Linked DNA regions of Homo sapiens: all the other regions are linked to region 1. The links are contacts of gene promoters, found by promoter capture Hi-C in blood cells and fetal thymus (Javierre and others, 2016). All regions are on one chromosome and are shown on one strand. The core of a region is centred on a gene start or on the middle of the fragment in contact, and the rest is flanking DNA. Distances in the headings are between cores, read along the strand shown.

Region 1 (6,221 bases), core at 2,707-5,206:
CACAAAATAGTTTTAAAAAGTTAAAGCTTTAAAAGTCTTAATTTATTTAAGAATATATTTCCAAAAGATCTGCAGTGCCCAGTCAATAAAAGGAAGGAGAAAAGAAATGACTGATGCTTACACATTCAGTAAAAATATATCCATTTAAATCAATAAACAACTCATGGCTTTGTATAAAGTGGAATCTTTATTATCTTTTTTGGATCCATGATTCTCCTTCCTCCCCAGCAGCAAAGGCAATTATGATAAAAGATGTTCTGAAAATTTTTTTGCCATCTCTGCCAATTTATAACCCATGACTTTCCTTGTTTCAAAATTTGTAAAGTCCACTTTCTCCAAGTCTTTCCCATTATGCTTCTATTTTCCAAATTCGCTATTTTTAATCTCATTTTCCTAGTTAATCATACAGAAAATTCCCAATTACCTTTTCAAATGAATAGAAGTCACAGTATCAGTAATTCCGAAACCATTTCTGTTTGACTTAAAATGCATTTGATTTTGTGGACAATGGACTAAAATCCCTTTTTCATTTAGGGTAAATGTGAATTAAGTTTATAACCCTTTAACATTCACTAACTGATCATTCAAGGAATGGGCCTTGTGATTGTGACTGTGGTAGCAGTACAGTAACAGATAGCAACTTGGTTTGGCTACAAATATATATCAAAAGTACTAGTATTCAAATAGTTAAAAGCTTGCTGCAGCTGCATACATTTCGTTTAGATATATATACTTTCAAAGTCTATTCTCATTATCCTTGCCGGTGGAGGGGAACAAGGTCTTGAACAAAAGAGTACTGTTTCAAAATAATTCTCATTTCCTTTCAAGTGTGCAGATATTCACAATATACTGGCTGTAAATTCAATCTAAATGAAGAAGTGCTGTTAAGTTACTGCTGAGGCCTGGGAAAGTGACCAATGTCCAATACTAACCTTCTTTGAAACCATCCCAGGAGAGTTTGTATTAAAGTCATCGTTGACAAAATTCAGACTGTATCCAAACAGTACACTCACAAAGCAAAATAACTTCTAAAAGCATATAACTACTATTAACGGACTTTAAAATGCTAATCATTTCATTGGAAGTGATTTTCCTGAGAATAAGATATATTTTTCTGTTATCTTTATTTTTTAACATTTTTGTCCTTTTTCCCAACAAGATGCTGTCAACTTGTGACATTTGTTTATTATCCTTAGCAGATTTTCCATGTGCAATTCAGAGAGGCTAACTTGCCCAAACACACAGCTTAAAGTTAGACCTCAATCAGAGGCAGTTGGTTTCAGAAGCCAGGCTCTGAACCACATTAATATATCTGAAAAAAAACATGATTTCTCATGCAACTTCTATGATTACAACAACAACAACAACAATTCTGAGTAATGAGCTAGGTCCTATTACCAAGTAACACATCCTTTCCTTGCCTATCTCCCAGCCCAGGGATATTCCAGCTATGGAGTTTGGTGATCTGATTGTTTTCCATGTTCCTAACCGTCAAATCCTGATGTGATATTGGATTCAGACTAGAAATTATGAAGCAGGCACACAAAGCACCTTTATATATACCTCAATAACTTTTCCCCCAGAAACAAAGATATTTCTTGGCTGTTTCACTGAAACCTGAGGTTCTGTAGTTAGCTCATAGGGAAAAGTCAGTCACTATTAGAGTAGGTTGTTATCATCACCTTCTGTTCTTTTAACAATTGTCAAGTACTTTTCACATTTATCAATGTGTTCTTATCACATTCATTAACTGCTTCATACCAATATTTTTAAAATATTACTTGCTTATCCATGTATTTGAAGCTAAAACAATGATCACAATCAGATCTCTAGACAATGGTTGTAATGAATTTGTTCAAGAAAAGCATTCAAATTTGATGGAAAACTGAGCCTTTATAATTCATTCTAATTCTTCAACACAAAAATGAACTTTGGTAAATCAATAGGATCAACTGAGGCATTTATGCTTGAATGTGCTCCCCTAAGCTTAATGTATTTTTCCTCACTGCATTATATTTTAATGATTAATTTCATGCTCTTTCATGGTATTCTAGCTCATGAATCACGGGTATTACTTTGAGGGAAAAGTAAGGTGCTGTGAGTGATGAAAGATGTTACTGATTAAAGTGTTGCACATATGAACTACATAAGAGCTGAAGGTGTTTGAACACCAGCAATCTAGATTAAAAGTAATATTAGGCAAACTGGCCATATAGACTAAGGTTGAATTGAGTGGAGGGAGTGGGAAGGATGGGCTTCTTAAATGTTCTTAGTTGAAACAATATATGAAATCAAGCTTGGCATTCAATGTTTCACTGGCATCTTTCTCCTCAGTAGAATGTAAGAACTGATTTCGAAGACAACTGCAGAGAAAGAAATCAGTTAAGCAGATAACACACCATTCTGAAATTAAAGAGCCAAAAGCCACCCATCCTAAGTCAACTCCGATATCTTAAATCAATACTGCCTTAATACTGTCAGAAGCTTGTTTTTCGACTTAGTAAATAAAATTTTTTAAAAAGTTAAGTCAAAGTCACAAGGACCAAAAAGGAATAGACTACCCTAAATGAAATATAGAAAAAGACAAGTATCTATTATCCTGCACACAGATGAACAACTATTTGTTAAATATATCATATTGCTCAATATCAAAAAGTCAACTCTCCAAAACAGAAACCAAAAGTAAACTAACCAGAGATGTCCACATAATACACTTTGGCTCTTGTTACTAAAATGATTTTTCAAACCAAGTTATGGAGCCTGGAGAAAACAGGACTACTTCCTCCCAGAATATAAAGTTTCTTCAATTACGGAGGCAAAATGTGGCAAAAGCAGCTATTTTGCAAACAGGTGGTTTGCAAAACTTTTACTTAAGCCGCCAAAAGGACTGACGAAAGGAAAATTTTGTTATTTCTAAAGAAAACACACACACACATAATTTTCTACCAGAGTAGAAGACTCAAATAAAGAAAAGCCCCAAACAAAACAGAAAACTAAAAATCAGTTTGTCTTAGCTCAAAAGTGCTGACCTAGGTTTAGTATGTGTAAAATCACTGTTGATAATTAAATCCTTTTCATCGCATATATTAAGATACTAGAGAGAAAGGAAATGCCATGTCGTTTCAGGTAGGACCTTATTTACATAAAAAAAGATTTTTTTTAACAGAAACGGAGTGCAAGAGGGAATCAAAAACCGTTGAGAGGAGAGAAAAATACAGTTAGTTTTTCTGAGGGCACTGCATTTTTCATGTTCTGAATACTTCGTTCCATTCTCTCCATGTTAAATTATTTCATAAACAATACTATGACTAGAGGCGACTGCTACAGCTGACACACAGATGTTTTATTTCTATGCTTCACCTTTGCAAATAGCAGGATTCAGCTATTGGAAATGGGGGCAGTGGAGGTGTCCAGAAACGACATACAGGAGGTGAAGGGGTAGAACGTGTGGGAAATGGGCACTCCTACCCCCTAGAGTCCACCTCTCTGGAACTCCAGTGCTTCTTCAGTCACTGACATTCAGAGGAGGACAAGACAGGCTTCCTGAAATCTCTTCCGAAGTAAACAGGTCCCGACGCAAAGGGCAACCCCTCCAGTAGCGGAAAGTCCTCCCCTGAGCTCCCCGCCTGCCCACGCGGGCCTGTGGCTCCGCGCTCCTCCGCTCCCCCGCAGAGCTCCCACGGGGGAAACTTTCCCGCGTCTCTCACTCTCCGGGGTGCGGGGGCCGCGGGGGCCTCCCCGGCACCTACCCGCAGAGCACTCCCCACCACCCCGCCACCACCGACGAGCCGGCGCGAAGTCCGTACCTCGATGTCCGCCGAGTCCTTACTGAGCACAGGGGCCATGGCAGTGCCTACAGTCTCGAGTCTGCCAGTGACAAACCCTCCTTGCGTCCTCAAGCTCCAGCCAGAGAGCCAAGTGACAGCAGCCGGAGCGCGAGTCGAAAACAGGCAGACTAGGGCCGGCGGCGCGGGGGCGGAGCGGGCGCGGGGCGGCAACGCCCCCGGGGCGGGGCTGCGCTCTCGGTCCTGCGGCTCCCGCGCCAGGCACGGCAGCCGCAGCCCGGCCTTCCCAGTTCAGCCCGCTCCGCGCCCCAGCCTGCAAGCAGAAGGGAGGGAGGGAGTAGAGCACCCGCTCTGGGGACTGGCCTTTAATCTCTAAACTGCTAAAAACAGAGCTAGGCAGGCGGGGCCAGATAGGAGGGATCCCCAGGCAAAGGTAAAAGCAGTCCGCGCTCCAAGCAACAACTTGCACTTTTTCTTTTCTTCCACAGAAACCCCGCGAGATGTAGATACATTGTTTGAGGGGCAACTGCATTTTCAGGAACTCCTCAAGGATGAAATAGTAGATGTTCCTCCATCCATCCACCAAGTAGGTGGGCGGGGTTTGAGCTGCAGTGGAGGATACCAAAGCACCGGTCTTCTGAGAGTTCACAGCCCCAGCGGGGAGGGGAGGGAGGCGAGCAAAAACATCCACAGCCCGCAGCAGCATACAGGAAGTGCTGCAGGTGGTACATAATCAAGGTTGTCTTTTTGCAGGAAAGTCTCATTTTAATGGTTATTTTTTTAAATATTTTTTATTCTAAAACGTGAAACTCTTTTGAAAAGTTGCTCTTCGTTTTTGCTCTAGAGCTTGCTGAGGAGAAGGGAGAGATTTCCTGTAGAGTTGGTCCCAATCCAGAAAACATTCACCTCGTTTTTTGAGGATATGTGTACTCCAGACCTCTCTCCTTTTCTCCCCGCCCCCCCCCCACCCCTGTTAGATGCATCCCACCTCTCTTCTACCATAACACTTTCTACTTCCGTTAGGACATTTGCGGCACTCCTTCATGCACTTGGCTAGGTAGTGACACCTTGGAGTCAAGTATTTCTCCCTTATTATTTTTTCATTAGTCCATTCATCGTTTTATTCAACGAATATGTTTATTGAGCATTTTCAATATGCCAGACACAGACACTGTGCTAGGTTCTCCGGATATAGTCTTCAAGAATACACATCACTGTCATGGAGATTATACTCAAAATAAGCAAGTAAGAAAATGTGATGCCTGCTTGTAAGATAAAAGAAAAATAGGACAGAATAACTAGGGTATGGGTACCTTGCGTGGTTGAGAAGGCTTCTCTGAACAAACCATCAGATTACCTTCCAGAACCTGGAAATTACTAAAAGACAGATACATTTTTCTTGAATCAAATATTAACAGACACTAGAAAGTTAAATGGAAACCTTAGAATCATCTTTGACTCCTTTATCCTTATTGCCTCATTTAATCTATGCCCAAACTCTCAGAAGTCAACCTCCTAAATAGATTTTGAATCATTCATTTCTCCATTTTGCTGCATCCACCATGGTCCAAGCTACTGGTATTCTAGCTTCTATTCTTACCTCATATCCATACCAGATTGAGCTTTAGAAAGTATTAACTGGCTCATGCCATACAACGATACATCCACACACCCAGGTACCCATGGTATAAATCCTTCAATGGTCCATTGCAGTCAGAATATAATACAAACTCCCTAGTAACCGCTGAATAACCTGCTCTACTCCGCTTCTCCGCCACTCTTGCCCTGACTCATTATGTTCCAACCACAAGGTAATCTTCTCATCCTCCATCCACTTCTCTACCTTTGCACATTGCCCTCCACTTGGAGCTCTTCTTCCCCTTCTACTCATCATTTAGGTCTCACTGAAGCCTTTATGATCTAACCCCATCACCAACAAAATTACACCCACTCTGTCTTTTTCATTATATTTCGTCTTCATAGACTTTTCAAATGTTGTTTAAATATTTATTTGAATGTGATTCATTTAATATATGTCTTCTATTTAGAGAGGAAGCTCCAGGAAGAGGGGGCCCATGTGTACTTTTATTGTTTACTGGATACTCAGTTCCTAGCTCAGGACTGAAGCATAAGAGACCAAGAACACTTGGTGATTGAATGAACAGAGTACATTCGTTTATACACTGGGCAGTTCATTTTAGAAACTTTAGTTTCTCTGCATCACATATTCTCATTGTCCTACTTACTGCTGAGAAATAGGTCACAATATCTATCAATGAATTTGTAGTTAAAATGGGTCAAAATAACTACTTATCTTTTCATGGAGTAATGTTCCAAAGTCAGATGTTCCTGCATCTCCCTACAACCACACCTTACCCACTTACTCTAGATCCTCTTGGAGATATAGAGAGATAGATAAATCTATCTATATCTATT
Region 2 (6,221 bases), core at 2,085-4,584, 3.0 Mb after region 1:
TGTCAGCAATTTGCACTTGTATCCAGTTTCTAGATTTATATGAATTTGTATTCTTATGTACCTTTACAACTCCTTTTTTAACCAGCAGTTCCCAGGGCGCTCAATTTGAAGCATCTAAAAGGGTCAAACAGGGTTGCAGATAAATGCCAGGGTTGATTACTGAGGAATGACAGATAGCATCTTTCCTATTCCTTGCTGACCATTGCCCAAAAGGAGCTGAAACCATGACTGAAATGAGCTTCTGCCCCTTAATTCTCTCTGCTTTCATTTCTCAGAATCCTCAGTCACACGTCTGAGCAGCTGGGGTTTTTCCACCCATAGAGTCTGCATAGCTAACCTAATGCAATTAGTTGGTAGGAGAGATATAAAAACATATTTAAAAGTTCAGGGTAGAAATCCATTTTTTAGTTTAAAAATGTTCAATAGTATATGTATTTTATGATCTTATAAACCGATTTAATCTTGTAACATACAAAGGAATTAAGAATTCTGATTGGTGACTTGCAAGATACCATTTGAACAGAGTTGAAGAATCATTTTTGATTTTCCAATACGACATATTGAAAGGGCAAAAGGAATGGCTTAGTATTTATGGAAAGACTTACTGAGTGACAGCTGTCCCTTCACACTGCTCCAAGGGCATCCCTTGTGTAAATTTTAAACATCACAGAGTTCTAAAAGACGAGACTGATTTGCCTGTCACAACCCCCCCCTTTCTTCATAACTACTCTTTTCCATAAAATTCCTCCAGGGAAGGAACTTTTTATTTATCTGGCTTTGTATCCCCAGCACCCAGCACAGAGCCTGGCACATAGAAGACATTCATTAAATGACTGTTGAATGAATGAAAGAAACAAATTTGATATGACAACAAAGATAGGTTAACATATATGGGACAAACATTATTTGACAATGACAAAAGAAGTGAGGCACAGCCTGACGTTTTTCACTCATAGAACTTTTCCTGATTTAAATAGTGTCCACCTACACTTTTATATTGCAAATAAAATGCCTTTAGTTTTAAATTTGGTCATTATGCTCTTTAAGACTGAAAGATGTGAAGACATCACCATCACTTTTTGAAAGGAGAAGGTCCTCATGGGAATACCTATCATATATCTTGGGGGATGGGGAGTGGGGGAATTTGGGAGTCTCTGGAAACTGATGTAACTGAAATTAAACTTCAATTTCTCGTACCCATTTCAAAACTATTTGAAAAGAGGTAATGTAGGTTTCTCCATAAACCACTTAAGCGATTTCTGATTTGTAGCAATACAGTATAAAATATAGGACTTATTTTCAAAGGCAGAATACAAAAAAGTTCAAAATGCAGCTGACCTTGATGAGTTAGGATTATGCTGGAAATCAGTTGCTGAAATTTAATTATTTCTATTACTTCTCCCGCCTTCTCCCAAGTTAAATCATATTGAATAAGGGCGTTTTGGAGAAAAATCCAATTACCATAGAATTATTTATCTTTAAACTATCTAGTTTGCACCCAATTAATTTTTCCTCAGCAGTGCAGTAGAGTAAAATTCAAGGTCTACTGCTAATACAAAAACTTCCTTCCAAAAAAAGAGTAAATGCTACTAATTTTAAATATTTCTACACTTAAATTAAAAGAATGAAATATACGCTAACAAAGGCAAATACAAAATACTCTTCCCAGAACTTACTTCTGAAACCTAGCTGTTTTTACACAGCAGTTTTAATTAACATTTTTCAAAATTGTAGAATAAGTACATATTTTCAAAAATAAAACCACCGAATACTCCATACACACACACAAAGTTCTCAGAACGAGAGCAAAACATGCATATATCCTCACTACAAAAAGAAAAATACTAATACTGGAGCATTTTGCTGTGTCTCCTTACCTCGAGTGCAGTAGATTGCAGTAGGGCCAGCCGATTTATTTCCCTGCAGCTTAGTTATCATAAAACGGAAGGGGCGTCTCGTTTGCTCATTTTTGTTTTTTTTTCTAAACCAAGTAGCGTGCATCTATCCTTCTCCATTAGCTGGATTAACAACCTGGAAAAAGTGCCGCCCGCAAAGTGAGCGCCTGGAGCAAGGGACAGTCCCCGAGTGGCCGCCCCTCCCTTTCGGTGACGCTCCACTTCCTGTCGGCCTAAAAGGCATTCCCAGGAAGCTCGGTTTTGTAGTTTCCAGCCCACCTCCGAAAGCCAATCCTTTCCTCCATTTCTTCTCCAAGGTAACAACTTTTAAACATTCACGTGACGGACCACCTTCCCTCAGCCAAACAACTTCCCTGAAAGGCGCCCGAAGGAGCCTTCCCATCCACCGCGGGTGCCCAGGAAAGGCCTGTGGGGCTCTCCTCCCCGCGCTCCACACGCCCTCGCATCCCACCGAGGGGCCAGCTTCTGCCTGCACGTTGCTGAAACTGGCCTGGAGGTTCTGACAAGAATTAGAGCGGCGGCCGTTGCCCCGGGGATGACCTGGAAGCGAAAGAGACCGGCACGAATTCTAGAGTTTCGGGGTTTCCGCGGGTTGAGATTGTACGGGAAACAATGCATTAACCAAACCTAAAAATCAAACAAACACGTCTGGTAGAACCTACCATTAAAAAGCTTCTTTCCTATACTACGTTTAACAGCCTTTATTTTGAAAGACATTGATTGATGCCAGGCATGGTGGCGCACGCCTGAGGTCTCAGCTACTCCGGAGGCTGAGGAGGATCACTTGCGTCCGGGAGTTCCAGGCTGTAGTGAGCCTCATTGTGCTCCAGCCTAGGTGACAGGGCGAGACCTTGTCTCTTAAAAAAATAAAGAAAGAAAAACATTGATCGCCTCCTGCGTGGCAGTCCAGAAGGGTCAAGCGCTGTTTTCGGGGTGGCGTGGAATGGATTCCTAAGATTTGGGCGCCCATAGAGTTAACGCAGCAAAACGATCACTTGCGTTTCCTGCGGACTGGCGGCAATAGAACACGTGGCTGCCTAGACTCTTAATCACTGATATCTACCACACCAGGATTTAATGCCAGTTGGGAGGAAATGGCGAAAGGGCAGGCGCTGGAGCCCATGCATCCGGGAACACTGGTGGTAGGCGGTCGGGTGGGCGTGAGCGGGCTCTCCATCTCCCAGCCCAGTCTGCAGGTCGCCACCTCAGGATTTTCTTCCTGAGTCCGGGTGGCAGGATTCCATCCCAGGTCAGCCCCTCACACCCCCTGGTAGTTGCCACCTCCTGGCGTCCCTCCAACAGCTCCAGCACCTTTCTCATCCCGCCCCCGCCGCAAGCCACGCCCTCCGCCGCGCAGGCCCCGCCCGCGACCGGCCTCCCTCCTTTCCTGTCCCAGGACGCGTTGCGCGGCCCGGGCCGGAAGTAAGCGAATTCCCGGGTGTGTGTCTGTGTCTGTCTGTGTCTCGCAGCGGCGCGCGGCCCCGGACAAGCGCTGGGGATTCCCGTTTGAGGCGTCACTACTGTCACTGCCATCACCCCACGGAGCCACTTCTAGAGGGGAGTAGACCCGGCCCTTCGCCGGGCAGAGAAGATGTTGCCCCTGTCCATCAAAGACGATGAATACAAACCACCCAAGTTCAATTTGTTCGGCAAGATCTCGGGCTGGTTTAGGTGCGGGGTGCTGTGTTTGCGGGGAGGGGGTGTCCGGCAGAAAGGGAGAAGGCCCAGACCTCAGGATGGCCCGAGGTCCAGTGAGGGAGAGTCAAAAACTCCCCGTCAACCCCTAGCTGTGAAGAAAGGAGCATGTGAACTGGGAGGGTCTTGAAGAGGGTACCCAGCCTCGGGGTCCCGGCACCTCCTTAACTCTCCCGGCTCTTTTCCACGTGTATCATTCCCAGGTCTATACTGTCCGACAAGACTTCCCGGAACCTGTTTTTCTTCCTGTGCCTGAACCTCTCTTTCGCTTTTGTGGAACTACTCTACGGCATCTGGAGCAACTGGTAACCAAAGGGGAAAATGGTTTGGGCGGAAGCTGGGTGTGAGGGAGACGAAGCACTGTTTGCTTAATGCCACGTAGCTCCTCACTAGGAGGTTCAGGTCCTACCTTTGTTACCTACCTCTGCTGCTGAGTTGCTTTCTCATACCCACACCAATCTGGTAGGGCTACAGTTCTTGAGTAAGATCTGGGCCTATCCTGTGCAACCTCTCTTGTCACGCTCCCCTCCAGTTCCATCAGACAAGACTGACAAGCCCCTCCTTATTTTAGCAGATGGGCAGAATCTTTCATTTCTAATTGTAGGCCTTAGGTTTACCCACTTTGTTGGAATTGGGAGAAACTTGTTTGCTGCCTCTCTCGGGGGGGAGTGGCATTTGGATTTCACCCTTAAGATTCTGAGAGAGTATATCTGAGATGTTCTACTTAGTTTGTTATTGGGGCTTGGAATGGGAGGTTTTATAAAGTGATATCGGGAGGAATATGTGTCATTCTCTTCTCTCTTTAATGCCGAAACTGTCTCATGATTTTCCTGTAGTCTTAACTGCGATGTAAAAATCCCATATAGTTTCTAGAAACAACATTTCTTGGGTTTTGGTGGCACCTTTGAGGGTTTTTGTTTTTTTTGAAACATCCTTAGGAGGAGGAAAATCTAGTGTGTAACTCTGTGGCAGTGAAGTTACTATTATTCAGGTATTTGCTGTTGAGTAACTTAAGGTCTTATGAAGTTGTTCTGCTAACAAGACTGTCACACTCCTAGGTGTACTAATTCTGTCTTTAGATCCCATACTCCTTCAAAAATCTGATGAAAGCCAATACTCAGAATTGTACATAAAGCTTCAGGATGTTGTTGGGTTCCCTGTACTAAATCTTGGACTCTAGATTAAGAACCTGTTTTCTATTTATTAAATAGACTTAGTCTCTGTTGTTTAAGACCCATTTTCAGAGAAAATCGCTGTCCTTGATCTTCTGTTGAGATCAAACATTGACAGGTAATATCACCAGGTTTTGTGACATGTATACTTTTATATAATGCTTGGGCTTCTTTCAATTCAACCGTCAATTCAGTTCTATAAAAAATACTCAATAACCAGCAGATTATGAAGGTTATTGGTTTAGTCAACAGTTGGGTATAAAGGCATATTGGCACAATGAAATCTTAATATATGTAATAACCATTTTGAATCCTTTGGGAATCAGATGTGTTAATTTGAAGGATACCCCATCATAGATTAATTTTTTAATCCCATAGTATTAACACACTTTAATATACTGTAGATGTTGAAAGCACTTGTACTTGAATAATCATACTTTATCATAAATATATAATATTTACAGTATATTTTACATTTTTCTCTTCCTAAATTATGCCAAATTAATTTTGGGATATGTGCTGATTGTATCAGGAGTGTATCATAGCTTATATATGCATATTTTGTATCAAGAGTGTATCATAGCTTGTATATGCATATTTTGTATCAAGAGTGTATCATAGCTTATATATGCATATTTTGCTACAGATAGTTTCTATTGCAGTGTTTCACTATGGCTTTCCATTACATAAGTCACTCTGTGAAATATCTCATTCAAGAGATTCACACTTGAAGTTCCTAAACCACCTTTCATGGAAAGTTAAGTATATAGTAACTCTTTTGATCTGTAGAGATCTGTTGGGGAGATTACCAGAACCATTATTTTTTAAGTCAGTATGCATCAGTGCATAACAAAAACATTAGTTGTAGTCGACTTGTTCTTTTACCCTTAGGGGACTTGCTTTTCTTTACTAGTGCAGCTTATATACTGTTTTTCATTGTGTTATGTCTTCTAGCTAGATTTGAAATCTAGCTCCAGTGCATGTTGTACTTAGTTCATTTAGCACGTATCCGTCATCTCATGCCTATTTATGTTAATCTCCAGATCTACAACCAATTATTCTTAAATATTAATTTTTAATACAGATCTCTTGTCATTGATATTTGGGCAGATTTAGGCATTTCTCTGGCCTTTTAATAATCTGGCTTTCTGTGTTTTATTTAGACACCAAAATTTTTAGTTCCTTTTGTTGACTGATCAATAATTTCTTTATATGACCAGAAGATTATCTGTGTTCCTGTAGGTTATATTAGCTTTTCAGTTCCTTGATTAAATTTCTTCCAAAACTCATTTTGTGTATTAGTCAATTCCTTGTTGAATTTCATTCTGTAAAAATAAATTTCAACTTGTTGAGAACATGAAATAACCAAGAATTTTTTTCCTATAGAGGACTGAAACGTGAATAAAACACTCACTTCACAAATAAAGGTTCATAGAAG
Region 3 (6,221 bases), core at 1,862-4,361, 2.7 Mb before region 1:
GGCATTTAAGCCCTCTTTTGGTTGTTTTGGTGGTTCATGAAAGTACTTTTACCTTTCTCAGTTTTGATTTGATATTTTTTCTTATCACACTCCACTCCAGTATTAGGATCCTCACCTTTTTTTGACATAACACTTAACTCTCCTAATACACTTGAAATTGTGCATTCTCATTTCTATGCTCACGTGAGTTTTGACTTAAGATTTCAAACTCAGAGTTGAGTAAGTCTACATACTACTCATGAGAAAGTGAGTAGAACTGTTTCCCCCCAAAATGAAAAGAACTATCTTCTGGGTTATTGGTTTTAACTGAAGGTGAAAGGTTTTAAACCTTTTCCCCTTATGGTCTTGGGGAAGCAACTATTTAGAAAATTTGCTTGTAAAAATAATACTTGTAAAAATAATAATTGTTCTAGCAAATCATACACCTTTGTGTGTGTAAGGGTGAGAAGGGAGAGAGAGAGATGGAGGTAGACAATGCTCTAACTGTAGACATTCATCCTACATTTAAATATTTTGAATTTTCAGTAGCCTGTGAATACGAGGAAACTTATTACATTAAGGTAGACTTTAGAGATTTGACATGTAGCTGATATTTTCACAGTGCAAGAAATATCAAGCTGACATTATGCAGTCTCTGAGATGATTATTTCCAAATGTCAGAGTGCAGAAACTTATTCATGGGACTTCAGTGCCTTAGGATAGTGTCAATTTAAAAGACATTCACATTGACTTCTTTTTTATTTAAACATGCTAAATGAGGTATGAAAAGCAGATTAAGAAATCAACTGAGAAAGGAAGAGCAAAGAAGAAACCTATTGACAAGAAAATTTTAAATCATAGATTGATGTACTCTTTAATCAATTTTCATGGACCTATTGCTGACAGCAGGCTTTAGCAACTGCCTCCTAATCCTTCCTACAGCTGTAATTTTGCTCTTCATGTTATTTCACTCATCTCACTTATAGTGAATTTGGAAAATTAAAAATAAGTAAAAACTATTTGAATATTTTATAGATTTTTTTTTGCTCTTGAGACGGAGTCTCGCTTGGTTGCCTAGGCTGGAGTGGTGCAAAGGTGCGATCTCGGCTCACTGCAACCTCCGCCTCCCGGGTTCAAGCGATTCTCCTGCCTCAGCCTCCTGAGTAGCTGGGATGATAGGTGCTTGCCACCACGCCCAGCTAAATTTTGTATTTTTAGTAGAGACAGCATTTCACCATGTTGGTCAGGCTGGTCCCGAACTCCTGACCTCAGGTGATCCACCCGCCTCGGCCTCCCAAAGTGCTGGGCTTACAGGCATGAGCCACTGCGCCCAGCCTATTTTATAGATTATTTTCAATAAATAAGTCAAAAACCAAATTGTTTGACTTTTCATAGTAACACTGGATTTCGAATTAAAATAACTTAGTAATATTTTAAATTAAAAACGTATTCTTTTGTTCAATCTCTTTAGCAGTTAATTATGAACCTACTGAACTGCTGGAACGTCTGTTATTTTGGAAATAAAGGAGTTTTTTTTTTCTTCAAGCCAATTGGCCATATCAGAGATAACTGCATTTAAATAAGCCTTCATCTTCCCAATTATGTGCTCCTAATTACTCGGGGTCACTGAAATCCCATGGCATCTTCTGAAAAGCATTTTCCCTGCAGTCCATCTTGTTAGGTTTCCTTTCTGTTCCGGGAAGCCAGTATCTTTTCCTTTATCAGATTCCTTTTTTACCAACAGCGGGAATGGTAATGGTGAATGGATGCAGGGTTTTAAAATCAGCCAACTTTGTTCTGACTTCCGTAGGTCAGTGACTGGAGTCACTGCCTAACAACCTAAATTCCCAGATTTATCTCATGAAATGTGATTTCTCATACAAACAAAAGTTGTGAGAACTCCATGAGCAAGACCAGCTGCTTGTGGGGACTGCCAAATTTTAAACTGTTATTTGAACAGCAAAAAGACCAGGCAAACATCCGAGAGACAGACCTAACTGCAGATAAGTCTTGTAATCTTGTTCACTATAGTCAAAACAGAATGGATTGCTTATTCTGTTACCCTATTGGTATTGCTCACATTTTAAAATTTAGGTGCTGGGCTCAAGAATGATAATTTTATTATTAAGCTTCAAGAGTCACATTGTATTGTATGCATTGAATATCACGAAATCGAAAACACTGAAAAGCTAGCGTTTACATTCTTGGATCATACCCCCAAAGGCCAAGGATTCCCACTGGCCGCTTGCAGCAGGGCTGTCTCCTGTGAAGGCAAGAGACAAACGAGGAGCGTTATGACACTTTGCTCCCAGGACTTTGGCGCACAGTTCCCATGAGTCCAGGTCCGTCCAGTCAACATCCTGAAGCCAGGACTGGCAGGTCCTGACCCTCCCTTTTTGCACCCGTAAGGGGAAGGGCCCGGGAATCTGGACCTTGTCTAGAGTCCCGGCGCCAGTACCAGTTCGGAGGGCATCCTGGAGGTTGTTACTAACCCGAGCCTCTTCCAGGCTTCCCAGGCACCAGGGTTGCTAACAGCTCCACGGGGGCGAATAATTTTGTTTATTTTGTTAACTGTGGTTATCTCCAACACTCAGTTCAGACCTGAGCCGGGCAAAGTCTCACCTTGTCTCCTGGTCACTTCCCTGCTTGTTTGTTTCTTCCTAACTCCCAAGTGTCTTTCGCCCAGTTCATCCCCACCTCAGCAGCCCAAGGCTCGGCGGGGACGGTCGGGGTTCGAAGCCTGCAGCTAAACTTAGAGGGTTCAGGCTTTGCTGGGAGGCCTCCCTGTGCTCAGAAGAGCCGGGGGTAAGCTGGGCGGTCGCCTTGGGTGCAGACAGAGGCGCAGGGCCTCGGCCTCCAAGAAAATTCCCAAACCGAGAGGCTGAGCTTCGCGTCTGTAGTTACTGAGCAGGAGCTTCTGGGCGGAACTTCTAAGGGCCCCGCCCGCCCCGTCTGCCCTGACCCTCGCCCGGACTCGCCTCGCCCACGTCCCGTTTCGCTTCGCCCCAGCTCCGTCTCGCCCCGCCCCCGTCCCGCCCGGTTGCGGAGGCGCGGGGCGCCCCCGGGTGGCCGCGGGCAGTGCTGCTCCTGGCCGGTGGAGGCGGCGGCTGCGGCAGCGGAAGGGGAAGCGCTGAGGCGGTGGGGCCCACAGCCATGGCGGAGCCTGTGCAGGAGGAGCTCTCGGTCCTGGCCGCGATTTTCTGCAGGCCCCACGAGTGGGAGGTGCTGAGCCGCTCAGGTGACTACCCGCGCGCGGGAGGGACAGGGCGCCCTCAGGGGCCACCCGCGTTCGCTTTGCGTCTCCTCCCCACCACGGAGCCTGGGCACCCCGCCTGGGCCCACGTATGGGGACCGGGTTAGTTGAATGATGGAATGACACGCCCGGAGGCCGGAGTGGTGTCGCAGCGGGCGGGAGTGTGAGGCGACCCCAGAAACACTAAGAGAGCGGCGCGGCCCACTGGGGCCTCTGCCGCCGGTCCCGCTCCCGGAGCCGGGGGCCCCTGCGTGCGCACCCCCAGGCCCTCCCCCAGCCTCCCACCCCTCAGATCTCACCCTATAAAGAAGCCTGTGCTGACGCCCCCTCGTTGTTCTGTGTCCTTCCTAAGCACTATGCCCTAGGCCCCCCCGAGAGCACTCCCCGGTTCTAACTCTACACGGGTATTTGTAGGTCTTAAGTTGCAGGAGGGCAGGGTCTGTTTGGTAATGACTCCAGGCACCTGGTAGGTAGTAGGTAAATGTTTGTTGACTGAACTTTTTCATTTATCCAGTGCTCAACCTCAACTTTATCTGCATTCTATTTCCAAGTTGATTGCTTTTCTGATACTTTTTTTTTTTTAGGTGGAGTCTCTCTTGTTGCCCTGGCTGGAGTGCAGTGGATCCATCTGGACTCACTGCAGCCTCCGCCTCCCGAGTAGCTGGGATCACAGGCGCGTGCCACCATGCCTGGCTGAATTTTATTTATTTTATTTTATTTATTTTTTATTTTTTAAGACGGAGTCTTGCTTTGTCGCCTAGGCTGGAGTGCAGTGGCGCGATCTCGGGTCACTGCAACCTCCGCCTCCCGGGTTCACGCCATTCTCCTGCCTCAGCCTCCCGAGTAGCTGGGACTACAGGCGCCCACCACCACGCCCGGCTAATTTTTTGTATTTTTTTTTTTAGTAGAGACAGGGTTTCACCGTGTTAGCCAGGATGGTCTCGATCTCCGGACCTCGTGGTCCGCCCGCCTCGGCCTCCGAAAGTGCTGGGATTACAGGCGTGAGCCACTGCGCCCGGCCTTTTTTTTTTTTTTTTTTTTTTTTTGAGACAGAGTCTTGTTCTGTCCCCCAGGCTGGAGTGCAGTGGCGCGATCTCGGCTCACTGCAAGCTCCACCTCCTGGGTTCACACCATTCTCCTGCCTCAGCCTCCCGAGTAGCTGGCACTACAGGCGCCTGCCACCATGACTGGCTAATTTTTTGTATTTTTAGTAGAGACGGGGTTTCACCATGTTGGCCAGGCTGGTCTCAATCTCCTGACCTCGTGATCCGCGCGTCTCGGCCTCCCAAGGTGCTGGGATTACAGGCGTGAGCCACAGGTGCCTGGCCTTCTGATACTTTTTTTTAAACAAGCTCTTGAGGGCTTTATTAGTCATTTAGCCCACATTTATTGAATCCCTGCTGCCTACAGACTTTGTCAGGGTTTCAGAGACACCGCTACCCATGGCCTCTAGGAGCTTACAGTGTAGAGAGGTTCTTTTGACTATTTTTTGATGATAGGTGAAACTTACTGTCCCTGTATGTGGCTTCTATTGAATAAAAAAAAAAGAAAAAACACTGCCATGTATGAGAAAGTGACTCAGTTTTCACTTAGCTTTCAGATACATTATGTACATGTTTGGGGCATGAGATTTATCGTTCTAATGTTATATTGTAGCTACCATTAAAATTGGCTTTCTGACCATAAATTGGTTAACCTTTAAGAAGGTAGTCTAGGCCTGGCGCGTGGCTCATGCCTGTAATCCCAGCACTTTGGGAGGCCGAGGCGGGCAGATCACCTGAGGTCAGGAGTTCAAGACCAGCCTGGCCAACATGGCGAAACCCCATCTCTACTAAAAATACAAAAATTAGCTGGGCATGGTGGCACACGCCTGTGATCCTTGCTACTCGGGAGGCTGAGGCAGGAGAATCACTTGAACCCGGGAGGCGGAGGTTGCAGTGAGCCAAGATCTCACCATTCATTGCACTGCAGCCTGGGTAACAAGAGTGAAACTCTGTCTCAGAAAAAAAAAAAAAAAGTAGTCTAAAAATGGGCTGGATGTTGTGAGAAAACCATTTAAGATTAAGATCCTTCATGATATCCATTGGGTGTGTTATTCACTGAAGGACAGGGAGTTGACTTCCATTTATTCCTTCTTGCATTCATCCACTCACATCCACTCATTGGGCACTGTTATGTTCCAGGCACTATGCACCTATTAGTGTAATGGAGTTGCTTTCTTTTTAGTGCCCAGCCTGACTTGTATCTTTTGAAACAATTGTTTAAAATCCATATGAAGGGGTTTACTCACTTTTAGTGTTTTCTTGTCATCCCTCTTCTGATTGGATAATTCTTCACCATCTCCCTCTCTGTCTCCACTGTTCTCTTTATTGATAATTACTTCTGCCTGAGGCAGCTATTTGAAGAGATCATCAGTTTTCCTAAATTCCTTTATTATGGCTCAGTTGGGAATATCCTGGAAAAATGAACCTGCAATTTCCCATCACACCTTAAAGAACTGGTAATGGTCTGGGTCATTAGTACACAGCTGAGCATAAAACACTGCTGAAGGGTCAGAGAAAACCCAAAAATGTAAGCATAGAAAGAAAACAGTTTCTTAATCTTGAGAACACTGTGAACCCTTTATCTGCTGTTAAATTGAGCATGACTTTCAAGCCATGCCTCCTAATTAGTTTAATTCCATGTTCTGGCATCAATAAGTAATTGAATTATAAAAGAATTCAGTGTAACAACTTAGGACATTTTGTTGCTGAGAGGTAGAATAATTCAGTGATTGAAATGGGGATGTTTGATGTTCACAAGTGGGAATTAAGGGGGTAAGGTAAAGGCCTTTTTTTTTTTTCCCATGATTTTCGTAACATCTTTTTACAAAGTAAGGACTTCTTTAACAGACCACAGTAAACATGCAGCAGACTGCTGGCTACCACTCACCATCACTGTCAGTTTGGGTTGGAGGATACACACTTGATACCAGAACACTCTAAACACT
Region 4 (6,221 bases), core at 1,611-4,110, 2.3 Mb after region 1:
ATACATGTGCAAAGGTCTGGAGTTGAGACAGAAAGCACAGTGTGTGTGCAAATAACTCAAGTTGTTCAACAGACTTCTAGTGTAGTTTAGTGTGGAATAAGGGTGGGGAAGTGTCAGAGTTGGGGTTGGGATGGGTAGGTTTTGGTAAGGAATGAGATCTAAGAGACTGGAAAGGTCCAGATCATAAATTGCCTCATAGTCATTTGAATTTTGGACATTTTGCTGAAGGCAGTTTTAAACAAGAAAATGATATTATCAAATGTCTCTTACTTTATAAGATCACTCTGGCTACACTATGGAGAATGGGTTGGAAAAACTACAAGACCACTGGAGGCATATAATCCAGTTAAGAAGGGCCAAGACACCTCCAGTTGAGGGCAGGGTGGAAAAATCATGACTAGATTTCTTCAGAGAGAATTACAGGCTCAAATCAAGAGAAACTGGGCCAGGGGCAGTGGCTTACGCCTGTAATCCCAGCACTTTGGGAGGCCAAGGCAGGAGGATCACCTGAGGTCAGGAATTCAAGACCAGCCTGGCCAACATGGCAAAACCCCGTCTCTACTAAAAATACAAAAATTAGCCAGGCATGGTGGTTCGCGCCTGTAGTGCCAGCTACTTGGGAGGCTGAGGCAGGAAAATCACTTGAACCCAGGAGGTGGAGGTTGCAGTAAGCCGAGATTGCACCACTGCACTCCAGCCTGGGCAACAGATCAAGACTCTTCTCAAAAAAAAAAAAAAAAAAAATTAAGAGAAACTGGTTTGAGGGTTCAGTTCTAGAGGCTGGAGAGTCTGACCTGCTTTGAAGCTTTACGGCAGACACTGTGAGAAGACTAAAGACAAGCTTTTCTGCTGGGCATGGTGGCTCATCCTGTAATCCCAGCACTTTGGGAGGCCAAGGCAGGCGGATCACTTGAGGTCAGGAGTTTGAGACCAGCCTGGCCATCATGGTGAAACCTCGTCTCTACTAAAAATACAAAAATTAGCTGGGCATGGTGGCGTGTGCCTGTAGTCCCAGATATTTGGGAGGCTGAGGCAAAAGAATCGCTTGAAACTGGGAGGCAGGGGTTGCAGTGAGCCAAGATCGCACCACTGTACTCCAGCCTGGGTGACAGAGAGAGACTCCATTTCAAAAAAAAAAAAAAAAAAGACAAGTTTTTCTAAGCTCCCTTGTGCTAGCCGGGGCCATGTAACACAGTTCTGGCCAGTGAGACTGGAACCTCCTCCTCTTCCACCTTCCTGCCTTCAACATAAAAGAAGAAGTCGTAGCAGCCCTCTTGTATACAGTAGGAAAAGGACAAATGAACTACTAGGGAAATGACGACATTGATAATCATAAGCCACTTAATGTGAGCTGACATCTAATTGGGGATGCTCTGTATGCATGGATACTTAATTTCCTATTTATTGGTTGGGTTTTTAATTGCAGCTGGAAAACATCACGTACATATGAAACTGGAGATTTCCAGGACAGTAGGATATATGGGTTTGGAGTAGACCTGGTTGGAAGACTGGGGAACTTTAGGACTCATCAGCATAGATGGTAACTAAAGCCAAAGAGTGGATGGGATAACCCAGAAAGTGGGAAAAGTGCAGAGGGCCAAAGTCAGAGCCCTTTAGAAAAAGCAATATTTAAAAGGCGGGAAGGGAAACAGGATATTGGGATGAAGTGGCCAAAGATGAAGAAAGAATAATATTGGGAAACTGGTGTCACAGAAAACAAGAATGGAAAGCTCTAGAAAGAAGAGAGACCAATATGTGTTAAGTGTTGCTGAGAAGAGCTCTCTTCTCCTGGTTATCTCTTACTTATCCTTCTTACATCTCAAGTCATACAGTATCCTCTGGGAACTCCTCTGACCCCCAAGTCCACCATAGGTGTCCACTCCTGTGTGTTCCTGTAGTTCTAGGCACTTGTCCCATCACAGTACCTCTCATGCTGGGTTGTAATTTCTATCTGTCTCCCTCTCCTTTGTCCTCCACCACAAGGTTGTAATCTCTTGAGAAGGAAGATATGATGTCTATTTCATATTTGTATCTCCAGTGCCTAACACAGCACTGGTACATAGCAGGCTCTTGAAAGTTTTTGTAAGATCGGGGTCACCAAGGCAGGAGCATCTAGGGAAAGGGAGAAGAGGCAGGAAGAAGAAACACTAAGCAAATAGGGGTAACAAGTATCATTACCGGTATGTGTCAGTGCTTGGTGCTAAGACTGGGAGAAAGAGAAGGAAGTGCAGGGGAGATGGTGATGGGTCACAGCCTTGGTGACAAAAGGGTAGGAATGATATGTGGTGCGGACATAGAAGTACAAGGCAAAAGAGTGACGCCGAGCTGCTCAGTTCTTCGGAAGCAGGGACCCCTGCTGATATTCTATAACTTGAACGGCCTCTTCCTCTACACACTGTAGATTCCTTGAGGGTAGGGGTCGTGTTACCAGTGTTTGGCATACTGTGGGTACGCAATAAATGCTAAACGAATATATCTCTGGATCCACAGCGCCTATCACAATGCCTGGGCACCTGGAAGGCGCTCAATAAAACGCTAGCTGGGCCTCGGGGTACAGATGGAGCAGGACGGCTGAGTCGCTGCAGAAGCGCTTCCAGGTAAGGGGAGGGAGTGGGTTTCCACTCCAGACTGGTCGACTCGCTCCGTTCTCTGCCCTTTATTTTGCATGCATCCCTTCACCTCTCCATCACGCGTGCCCTGGACGCCTGGCACCGGAGGAGAAAGTAAAACACCACTCCTGGATGACTCCGGACAAATCACTCCTTCCCGGCCTCAGATCTGCCCAAACGTGCTTACCAGCTTCCCCGCATTCCTGCTCCAGGTTCTCAGCATACGGACTGCAGCCATCTTACCCCGGAAATGACAACAGTGCCGCAAACTGGAGAGACTCTCCTCGGCGCGGCCTATCAGGAGATGGGAAACGCGCCTCCCCCTGGGCGACCAATAGGGAGGGAAGAAACGAGCCTCCCACCCAACAGCCAACCAAGGAGTAGGGCGGAGCCTGAGCTAAACCCTAGGATCTGGGACCCAGCGGGGAGTGAAAAGAGCCTGGGGGACGGAGGCGGGGCAGAGGGCAGCCCAAATTTAACACTGCTGTGTAAATACAGATGCACCAAAGATAATCTTTTTAGTGTATGTGATGGGGAAAATAGAGAGTGTTAAGGAAACACAAAGAAAGGTACTTACCTCAAGAAAGTTATGTTGCAGTAGGACCTGAGCGATGAGTTGGAAAACATTTCCCCGTCTTCATCTTGTAGTGTAGCCGCCCCAAATACAGAAAATAGAATATTTCTATACGTTGTAGCAAGGCTCTGGACAACTAGTTGTTTCACAAGTCCATACAGCAGTACTTCCCAATGACTGCCTTTTTTACTCCCATTTATGTTTTTGATTACCAAAATTGGCTAATCAATTTTTTTCATGAAAGATGAACATTACCTAATGTCTAAAATAAACATGTTATCATCTTTCTTTTTACAGACTGCTATCAGATGCAGCTAACTAGCATATGCAATACATGTCACAGACACATGATCTTGATTTAGTTGTCTCTTAAAGAAATGTCAAATTCAGGTCAAGTGGAACTGGTAAAGAACAGATCAGAGCTTTCTTTTAAAAGGCAATCTTCCTCAGAGCAACTAGGAAACCAATTCCTGGAAATGTCCAGGATGACATTAGTCTGTTATTGCTTCTTACGTGGGAATGAAAATCTGCACAGATGTCTAAGGAATTACAGAGAAAAAAAACTGGAACAAATACATTTTAAATGCTCAACATTGAAGATTAGTGGTTATGAAACAAAATCTCAGGTATTTCACAACTTCATTGTTTAATATGACCCAAACACTTTTCCCCCTCATTTGCCATTTTATGTATTACACATCTACACACAAAAAATCAATGCAAACAATAAATCTTATTATCTTTTTTGTTTGTTTGTTTGTTTGGTAGAGATAGGGTCTCTTGGGCCAGGCGTGGTGGCTCCTGCCCATAATTCCAGCACTTTGGGAGGCTGAGGCAGGCAAATGGCTTGAGCTCAGAAGTTCAAGATGGGATCTCTCTATGTTGCCCAGGCTGGTCTCAAAGTCCTGGTCTCAAACTGCGATCTTCCCATTTCAGCCTCCCAAAGTCCTAGGATTACAGGCATGAGCCACTGGGTCCGGCCTAAATAGCTATCTTTCTCAGAAAATCTAGAGTAGTCAAAAGAATTTCAAGTTTTTACATTTCCTTAAAAATGTTTATAGACATTATTAATATATTTGATAATCCCACAAGCATGTGTTTGTATAAAAAGCAGTGGCAGTTGTACCTTTGAAGTGAATCATCTCCCTTCCAAGCTGCTGCTATACAACTTTCTTTGTCCTAATTTCGTTTTTAACTGTACCTGCTCCTCAGAAGATAACTAGTTTATTTTCCTTTACCGTCTTCTTATGTCAATGGATTCTTGCTTCTATATTCAGTATAATATGTGTCCTTATCTTTCATTCCAGCATCTGGAAAGAAATACACCATCTATTCCCTAGTTAATTCTTTTATTCGAGTTTGAAAGAAACAAAGACCCCATTTCTTCTCTTTTTTTAGATTTAAAAATGGCCAGTTATGACCCACCAATTCCACTCCTGGATAGCTACATAAGAGAAATGACAACAGTGTTCACACAAAGACTTGAATAGGAATAATCATAACAGCATAACAGCCAAAATCTAGAAACAGCCCAGATGTCCATTAACAGGTGAATAAACAAAATGTGGTACATCCATATTCTGAAATATTATTCATCCTTAAAAATGACTGAATTAGCGATAATTGCTATGACATGGATGAATGTCAAAAAAATATTATGCTAAGTAAAAGAATACAAGCACAAAAGATCACATATTACATTATTCCATTTAAATTAAATGTCCAGAAAATGTTGATTTATAGAGATGAAAAACAGATTAGTTTTAGTTATATTAGTTATATAATAAGATTATATTAGTATTATTAATTAATAAGGTTAGCATTAGAAAACAAATTCGCCTGGGGCTAGAGGTGGAAGGGGCAGTGATTGCAGAGGCAAGAGAGATTTTTTTTGTGGTGATGAAAATTTTCTGTTGCCACTTTGTGGCAATGATTGCATAATTCTGTACATTTACTAAAAATCTTTGAATTATACACTTAAGACAGGTGAATTTTATGGTATGTAAAGTACACCATAATAAAGCTGTTAAAACTGTGTTATATGAGACAATAATGAACATATGAATAAAAACAAATACATAAGTCTGGACGTGGTGGCTCATGCCTGTAATCCCAGCACATTGGGAGGCGAAGGCGGGTAGATCACGAGGTCAGCAGTTCGAGACCAGCCTGGCCAACATAGTGAAACCCCATCTCTACTAAAAATACAAAAATTAGCCAGGCATGGTGGCATGCGCCTGTAGTCCCAGATACTCGGGAGGCTGAGGCAGGAGAATTGCTTAAATCTGGGAGGCGAAGGTTGTGGTGAGCCAAGATTGTGCCATTGCACTCCAGCCTGGGCAATAGAGCAAGATTCCATCTCAAAACAATACAAAACAAATACATATGTCACATGATAATATAACAAAAACCCTTGAACCTATCACTCAACTTTAAGAAATAGAACCTATGGAAAAACACATTATGTAGGTTGTCTAAAAATAAAATACATTTTAAACTAAAAAAAAAAGAAATAGAATCTTTCCCGTTAGTGAAGATCACTGTCTGCTCCTTCCTTTACCTCTCCCCTTCATAAGCGTTATCTTGAATTGTGTTTTTCATTCCTTTGTTTATTTTAGAATTGACCACATATACATATATGGATGGATGCCTAGTAACATATTATTTACTTTTGCTTGTTTTTGAGTCTCATAAAAATGGTATTAAACTGTATGTATCTTTCTGCAACTAGTTTTTCTGACATGATTTATTTATCCATTCTCTACTGAGTGGATATTTGTGCTATTTCTAGTTATTTGCTATTACCGTCAGTGCTGTTATGAACATTCTTGATCATTTCTCCTGGTGCATGTTCTAGGGTTTCTTTAGCACAGCGCTTCTCAGACATTAATGAGCATTCATAGCAACCGGGGATCTTGTTAACAAGCAGATTCTAATTCAGTAAATGTGGGTAAACCTGCCATTCTGCATTTCTAACAAGCTCCAGGTGATACAAATGCTATTGGTTAGCCAACTACACTTTGATTAGTAGGCTTAGG
Region 5 (6,221 bases), core at 1,783-4,282, 2.2 Mb after region 1:
CTTCTTCTCTGACTTTAGTGTACTTATATTACTTTATGCATTTGTCACACATTAATACCTAAAATTTAGTGAACATTTATTATGCTCTAGTCACTGTTGTAAGCAGTTCATATGTATAATTCATTCCATTCTCATAATACCATGAAGTAGGTACTGTTATTACCATCAACTTAAAGATGAGACACAGAGAAGGAAATTGTACAAGATCTGTCAGTAAGTGGAAGAACTGGGACTTAAACCCAGGCAATCTGGCTCCAGAGCCTGAACTCCTAATCTGTGCTATGGTGCCTGTTCAAGGAAAATCTTATTTCCCCTATTAAAATGTGAGTTCCTTGAGGGACAGAATGAAAAGAGGTTTTTGTTGGCTTTTGTTGTTGTTGGGGACGGAGAGGGGGGTGCGTATTTACATCCTCCACACTTAGGACAGTTCCTGAGACACAGCAGACATTTGCCAGTATTTGTTGAGCTGAACTGGCCTCAAATACTCAACCAAGGCGTCTGGGCTGGGCGTGGTGGCTCACGCCTATAATCCCCGAATTTTGGGAGGCTGGGGTGAGAGGATCACTTGAGCCCAGGTGTTCAAGACCAGCCTGGGCAATACAGGGAGACCCCGTCTCTTTTAAATTAAATTAACAACAAAAAAAAGCCAGGCGTGGTGGTATGCGCCTGTAATTGCAGCTACTCAGGAGGCTAAGGTGAGGGGAACCCTTGGGCCCAGGAGGTCAAGGCTGCAGTGAGCTGTAATCGTGCTACAATACTCCAGTCTGGGCAACAGAGCGAGACTCTGTCTAGAAAAAAAAAAAAAAAGAGAGAGAGAAAGAGAGAGAGTCTGGGTTGTTCTTCCTATAGGTCAAGGATCACCAAATTATTCTGTAAAGGGCCAGATAGCAAATATTTTAGGCTTTGCGGGCCATAAGGTCTCTGTCACAATTACTCATCTCTGCCCTTCCTGTGCAAAAGCAGCTACAATATGTAAACAAATGAGCATGGCTGTATTCCAAGAAAAGTTTATTTACGAAAACAGTGAGCCAACTGGCCCATGTGCTCCAGTTTGCTGACCCCTATTATACAGATAATAGGAATATATTAAAGGTTTCTAAGCAGAGAAATTGAGTTTTTAGATTAACTGTGATGGCAATGTAACCAGAAAGAGACCATCTAGGAGTTTCCATATTGAAACCAAAGTCATGGCCTCCTTTATCTTTCTATAATCATTCTAAAACAGTGTTGTCCAATGGAGATACAATGTAAGCCACAAATGTGAGCCAGGTATGTAATTTTAATTTTTTTCTTTTTCTTTTTTTTTTTTCAGAGACAGGATCTCGCTCTATCACCCAGGCTGGAGTACAGTGGCACAAATAGTAGCTCACTGTAACCTCAAGCTTAGGCTCAAGCAATCCTCCTGTCTTGGCCTCCTAAAGTGCTGGGACTACGGGTGTGAGCCACCATACCTAGCCTACTTTTAAATTTTCTAGAAGTCACATTTTAAAAAGACTTTTAAAAGCAGGTGAAATTAATTTTAATAATACATTGTATTTAACCCAATATACCCAAAAATATTGCCATTTAACACATAATATAAAAATTGACATATTTTACATTCTTTTTTCATAGTAAGTCTTAAAAATCCAACGTGCATTTTCATATGTAAAGCACAACAATTCAGATAAGCCCCATTTCAAATGTCTAATAACCACATGTGGCTAGTGGCTACCATACTGGACAGCATTAAAAGAATGATCAACTAAACCTACAGATCTCCATATGCAGCTGCTGGTTTTGGGACCATCTCCTTGACCGGCTTGCCATTGATTTTTGACCGAATTCTGAACTATATATACTACAGTTTGACATTACTGGCAACTCAATAAGGCAATGTCTTCATTTTTTATGTTACATTTGTACACCACTTAGTTTTCACATACGATTTCACACCTGATCCTCATTACAAACACGTGAATACGCAAAAGATTTCACACCTGATCCTCATTACAAACACGTGAATACGCATGTTATATCAGTTTTACAAATGAGGAAAGAACGTTCAGAGAAAAAAAGAGACAACCATTGAGTGTTAGAACTGAGAAAAAAAAAGTAAGTCTCCTGACCTCTGGTCAAATCTATTTACGCCCCAATAATACCACCTCCTTAATCAAAGTTGCACTTCTCTGTGCGACTGGTCTTTATTTCCTCCAGTGATTGTAAACTCCATGAAGAAAAGGACTGTTTTTCCTGACCACTGTATTCCCAGTGCCCAGTAAGGTGTTTTACAAGGAGGCAATATTTATTGAATGAATTAATGACGTTTCTGCTTTTCTCATTTTTAGTCGGTTAAATGTAATTTACTTTTTTAAAGCAACTGATGTGAAGAGCCAAAGTACGCCACCAAATTGGTAGGTTTTTAAAAGTTGAACTTTACTGCCAACATACTTCAAAAGAGAACGAGGGGGAAAGGCTCGGAGCCAAGGCCTGAGTTCTAGTCCTGACCCTGCCATGAACTGGCTGTGAGCCCTCACGTAAATTTTTTTAACTTCTCTGGGCCAGAGTTCTTATCTGTCAAAAGGGAAGAGTAGGGCTATAATCTTCACGATTCCGTGCACAGGTAGGGTTTTTGACATTAACTTGATGTGAGCCGGCTTCCTAACTCCTCACACCCTTCCTCCAGTCCCCTCTGCAACGGCCGACTTGGTGAGAGAGGTAACCACCGGGCCCTCTGGGTTCCCTATCCGCTTCCTAGGGGGGCCGACTCGACACCTAGGTGCAAGGTGGATCCCACGGGCCAGAACCGCCATCTTTCCCCATTGGCCTGACCCCAACCGCCACCCGCGGGCACTGGATGACGCGGACCTTACCTCTCCTCACAGTCTTTGCATTTCACCTGCAACGGGACTAGTTGGTGGAACAGCACTTGGCTCATGTTGGCTCGCTGCCTCGGCTGGTGTGCAGAAAAGCCCAACAGGCCCGGCCCTCGGGATTAGCCTGAGAGGTCCGGGTCCTGATAAAGTTTGAGTTTGGCGCTCGGCTTCTGCGGAGGAGGCGGGGAGGGAGAAACGAGGGGAAGGCGTAAGAGACTTGGCCCTCGCCAGCCACCATCGGATTCTTCCGGTTCTGCGGAGGATAAAGGGAAGACGGTTGTGGTAGTTCCGGGTATTAACCTGTGTGGCGCGGGGGCTGAGGCAGCCATGTTTGTTAAGGGAAGGAGACCCGAAGGAAGCTTCTAACTTTTCTTCTGGTTGCCGGATGCTGGACACCGGAAGCGAGCCCTAGAATTATGGCGACCTCCGCGACGTCGCCGCACGCGCCTGGTTTTCCAGCTGAGGGTAGATGCGGTTACTATGTGGAAAAGAAGAAACGGTTCTGCAGGATGGTGGTGGCCGCAGGGAAAAGATTTTGTGGTGAACACGCTGGAGCCGCGGAGGTGTGGTATCGCCCTACTCTCTCAAGAGTCGGAAATAAGTATCCTGGTCCTGTCGGTGCTGGAACCCGGCCCCTCCCCTCTTTGACAGCTTTCTGCTTGTGTCCCCTGGATTCTCCAGCTTTCACTTTAATAAACCCAGTTTTGCCCTCCTTGCGGAGCGATTATGAGTTCTAGTGATGAGAAATTTTTTATTTTTCTAAGTAAAGCGCCAGCAGTGACCCATTTATTTTGATCTATTTATCTCGATCTTAACTCATGGTAATGCTAGGTTTTAATTTTTACCCCAAGCTACCGCTCCGTCTTCCTGCTGGAAAGTGGTAGTTTAGAAAAAGTAGTGATTGAAGTCCCAAAGGTTTCACTAGTTGTGTTCTAATTGTTATTTCATGAAAGAGAAGCACTTCTCGTGAATGCGGTTGGAAGAAACTTTCTTTTAAAAATTTAGACTTGAGGCCCGGCGCGGTGGCTCACGCCTGTAATCCCAGCACTTTGGGAGGCCGAGGCGGGCGGATCACTTGAGGTCAGGAGCTCGAGACCAGCCTGGCCAACATGATGAAACCCTCTCTCTACTAAAAATAAGAAAATCAGCCGTGGCGCGAGCTACTAAAATTAAGAAAATCGTGGTGGTGCGAGCCTGTAACCCCAGCTACTCGGGAGGCTGAGGCAGGAGAATCGCTTGAACCCAGGAGGTGGAGGTGGCAATAATCCAAGATCACACCACTGCATTCCAGCCTGGGTGACAGCCAGACTGAATCTCAAAAAAGAAAAAAAAATTTTTTTCGACTTACAGTTTTTAAGAATGCAACTTTGCTGGAATGGGAAGGAAAGATTTTTAAATATATACGAATTGACCTTTTACAATTGAGAACAAAGCATACAATTTTGTTTGATAATTATGCATATAAATGTACTATCAAACACTTTATATTTGTATATATGTATATTACTTTAGGATATATATGAGATGGGAAAATAAAAACCAGAGGAGCAAAATGCTCATAGGAAGAGAGCATGTCCTTATAGTTCCACAGAACTATAAAGAATAAACCAAAGCGATCAGCATCAGATTTCATGCTTCTGAATGTTCAGTATTATTTGCATTATTTTATTTCTTAAGGAATTTATTCTTCTAGACAATATCCAGTGCAGATCAGTCCCCTGACCCCCTTCATCTGCCACTCTCCATCATAGTTGTAGTCTACTTCCTATTTTGTTTTGACTGGCATTTACCAAAAGTGAAGCATACTGAAACAAGGACATTCTTGTTTTGGAATATGGGAGACGTGATTTGTTGTGGGAACTCTGAATTATGCCCATAGTCTATTGACTGGTTTTGAGGGGACTGGCAAACATCCCTTGTTGAAGAATGAGAGTTATGATAGGAGAAGGATTTAGACTCCACCTTATCCAGATATATGGAAGGTGAAAACAAATAGTGATGATAGTAGAATATGAATAAATCCTTACAAGCTGATTAGTATTCCTATAGAGGAACGACATATTGTCATTAGACACTTGAAGAGAGACCGCAAAACATCAAGTGGAAACACTTTTATTGACTACTATCTCGTTTTAAATTGTGGCTATCCTCCTGAATCTGTAATTTATGATGTAACTGGATGTTGTGTTTCCATCTTTTTTTCTAAGTGTCATATATAGCTGTGATGACACCACTCATTTTTACCCAGTGGTTCTCGACTGGGACTGATTTTGCCTCCAGTGAACACTTGGCAAAATGAAGACATTTTGGTTGTCAAACTGAGGAGTATCACTGACATCTAATGGATAGAGACCAGAAATGCTGCTAAACCTCCTACAAATCACAGGACAGCCCCCTGCACTCACCCCCTCAAAAGAATTACCTGCCCAAAACGTCAATAGTGCCAAGATTGAGAATTCCTGTTTCTAAATTCAACTAATAAATTTTAAATGTGCTTTTTTTTTCCTATGCTACAGTTAGGCTCTGGGGGTTAGAATAGTCTTTTACATGGAGGTTAGGATTTAAAGTCAGCAATAAGGAAGAAATTATATACAGTATTTTCTTTTTCTTCTATTGAATATATAGTATTTTCAAAAAAAAAATTTCTTAGCTTTCCCATGAAATTCAGTGTGAATAGCTTCATGGACATGCTGAGAGGCACATTCGAACAGAAATAAATTTTTAAAAGAATAATAATAGCAGACACTTAGTCACCACTTACTCTATGTACAGCACTGGGCTAGGCAGTTTTGTTTTGTTAACTATTAGCTCACTTAATGTGTTCAAACCTTAGAAGGTAAGACATATTTTTGTTCTCATCTTTCAGATGAGGCAGTAAGCCTACCTAACTAAGGTCATAGGGATCGTAGCTGGTAGGTAGAGCTGGGTATCATACCTAGGCAGTCTGGCTGGCCTGTGTTCTTAACTGTTATATGACCCCTATTTATACAGATTCATGTGGAATATTGGGTAGAATTGCCAACATTATCAATTTTCCTTTCTTTTTTCCCAGTTCATATAGTCATGTGCCACATAATGACATTTCAGTCAACAACAGACCGCATATATGATGGTGGTCCCATAAGGTTATAATACTGTATTTTTACTGTACCTTTTCTATGTTTAGATATGTTTAGATACACAAATACTTACATTGTGTTACAATTGCCTACAGTATTTAGTATGGTAACATGCTGTACAGGTTTACAGCCTAGTAGCAATAGGCTATACTATATAGGCTAGATGTACAGTAGGCTATACTATCTAGGTTTGTGTTACTATACTGTATGATGTTCTCCCAATGACAAAATCACCTAAAGATATATT

What was found. The method cuts DNA at HindIII sites, captures the fragments that hold promoters and counts their contacts. A CHiCAGO score of 5 or more calls a contact.
Region 2: a contact is called between the fragment with the promoter of SLC30A7 here and the fragment with the promoter of DPYD in region 1, in 4 of 17 cell types (non-activated CD4 T cells, naive CD4 T cells, fetal thymus and 1 more). The highest score is 7.3, in non-activated CD4 T cells.
Region 3: the fragment with the promoter of RWDD3 here is called in contact with the fragment with the promoter of DPYD in region 1 in 7 of 17 cell types (total B cells, total CD8 T cells, activated CD4 T cells and 4 more); the score reaches 7.1 in total B cells.
Region 4: the fragment with the promoter of DBT here is called in contact with the fragment with the promoter of DPYD in region 1 in 1 of 17 cell types (neutrophils); the score reaches 6.4 in neutrophils.
Region 5: a contact is called between the fragment with the promoter of SASS6 here and the fragment with the promoter of DPYD in region 1, in 1 of 17 cell types (total CD8 T cells). The highest score is 5.0, in total CD8 T cells.

The regions. Positions count from the first base shown.
Region 1 is chr1:97,917,078-97,923,298 of GRCh38, forward strand. It overlaps DPYD (dihydropyrimidine dehydrogenase), which reads right to left and starts at 3,957. Exons shown (of 23, transcript NM_000110.4): 1 at 3,807-3,957. The coding sequence starts at 3,845. RefSeq lists a silencer at 3,763-4,162. The HindIII fragment of the contact is 4,374 bases long and covers 2,483-6,221 here.
Region 2 is chr1:100,892,756-100,898,976 of GRCh38, forward strand. It overlaps SLC30A7 (solute carrier family 30 member 7), which reads left to right and starts at 3,335. Exons shown (of 11, transcript NM_133496.5): 1 at 3,335-3,587; 2 at 3,815-3,916. The coding sequence starts at 3,508. It overlaps EXTL2 (exostosin like glycosyltransferase 2), which reads right to left and starts at 2,087. Exons shown (of 5, transcript NM_001033025.3): 1 at 1,878-2,087. RefSeq lists enhancers at 1,419-2,142, 2,143-2,865, 2,760-2,829, 3,380-3,629, 3,680-3,839. The HindIII fragment of the contact is 2,158 bases long and covers 2,587-4,744 here.
Region 3 is chr1:95,231,099-95,237,319 of GRCh38, forward strand. It overlaps RWDD3 (RWD domain containing 3), which reads left to right and starts at 3,112. Exons shown (of 4, transcript NM_015485.5): 1 at 3,112-3,217. The coding sequence starts at 3,133. The region is part of intron 7 of TLCD4-RWDD3 (TLCD4-RWDD3 readthrough); the gene reads left to right. RWDD3-DT (RWDD3 divergent transcript) reads right to left here and starts at 2,884. Exons shown (of 4, transcript NR_125949.1): 1 at 2,602-2,884. RefSeq lists silencers at 2,853-3,182, 3,393-3,572. The HindIII fragment of the contact is 4,366 bases long and covers 2,107-6,221 here.
Region 4 is chr1:100,246,974-100,253,194 of GRCh38, forward strand. DBT (dihydrolipoamide branched chain transacylase E2) reads right to left here and starts at 2,861. Exons shown (of 11, transcript NM_001918.5): 1 at 2,797-2,861. The coding sequence starts at 2,847. RefSeq lists enhancers at 2,030-2,589, 2,590-3,149, 2,751-2,870 and a silencer at 2,981-3,080. The HindIII fragment of the contact is 8,889 bases long and covers 840-6,221 here.
Region 5 is chr1:100,129,898-100,136,118 of GRCh38, forward strand. SASS6 (SAS-6 centriolar assembly protein) reads right to left here and starts at 3,033. Exons shown (of 17, transcript NM_194292.3): 1 at 2,853-3,033. The coding sequence starts at 2,917. It overlaps TRMT13 (tRNA methyltransferase 13), which reads left to right and starts at 3,266. Exons shown (of 11, transcript NM_019083.3): 1 at 3,266-3,418. The coding sequence starts at 3,272. RefSeq lists enhancers at 991-1,040, 2,814-3,416, 2,821-2,940, 2,951-3,480 and silencers at 2,655-2,818, 4,956-5,250. The HindIII fragment of the contact is 1,832 bases long and covers 1,381-3,212 here.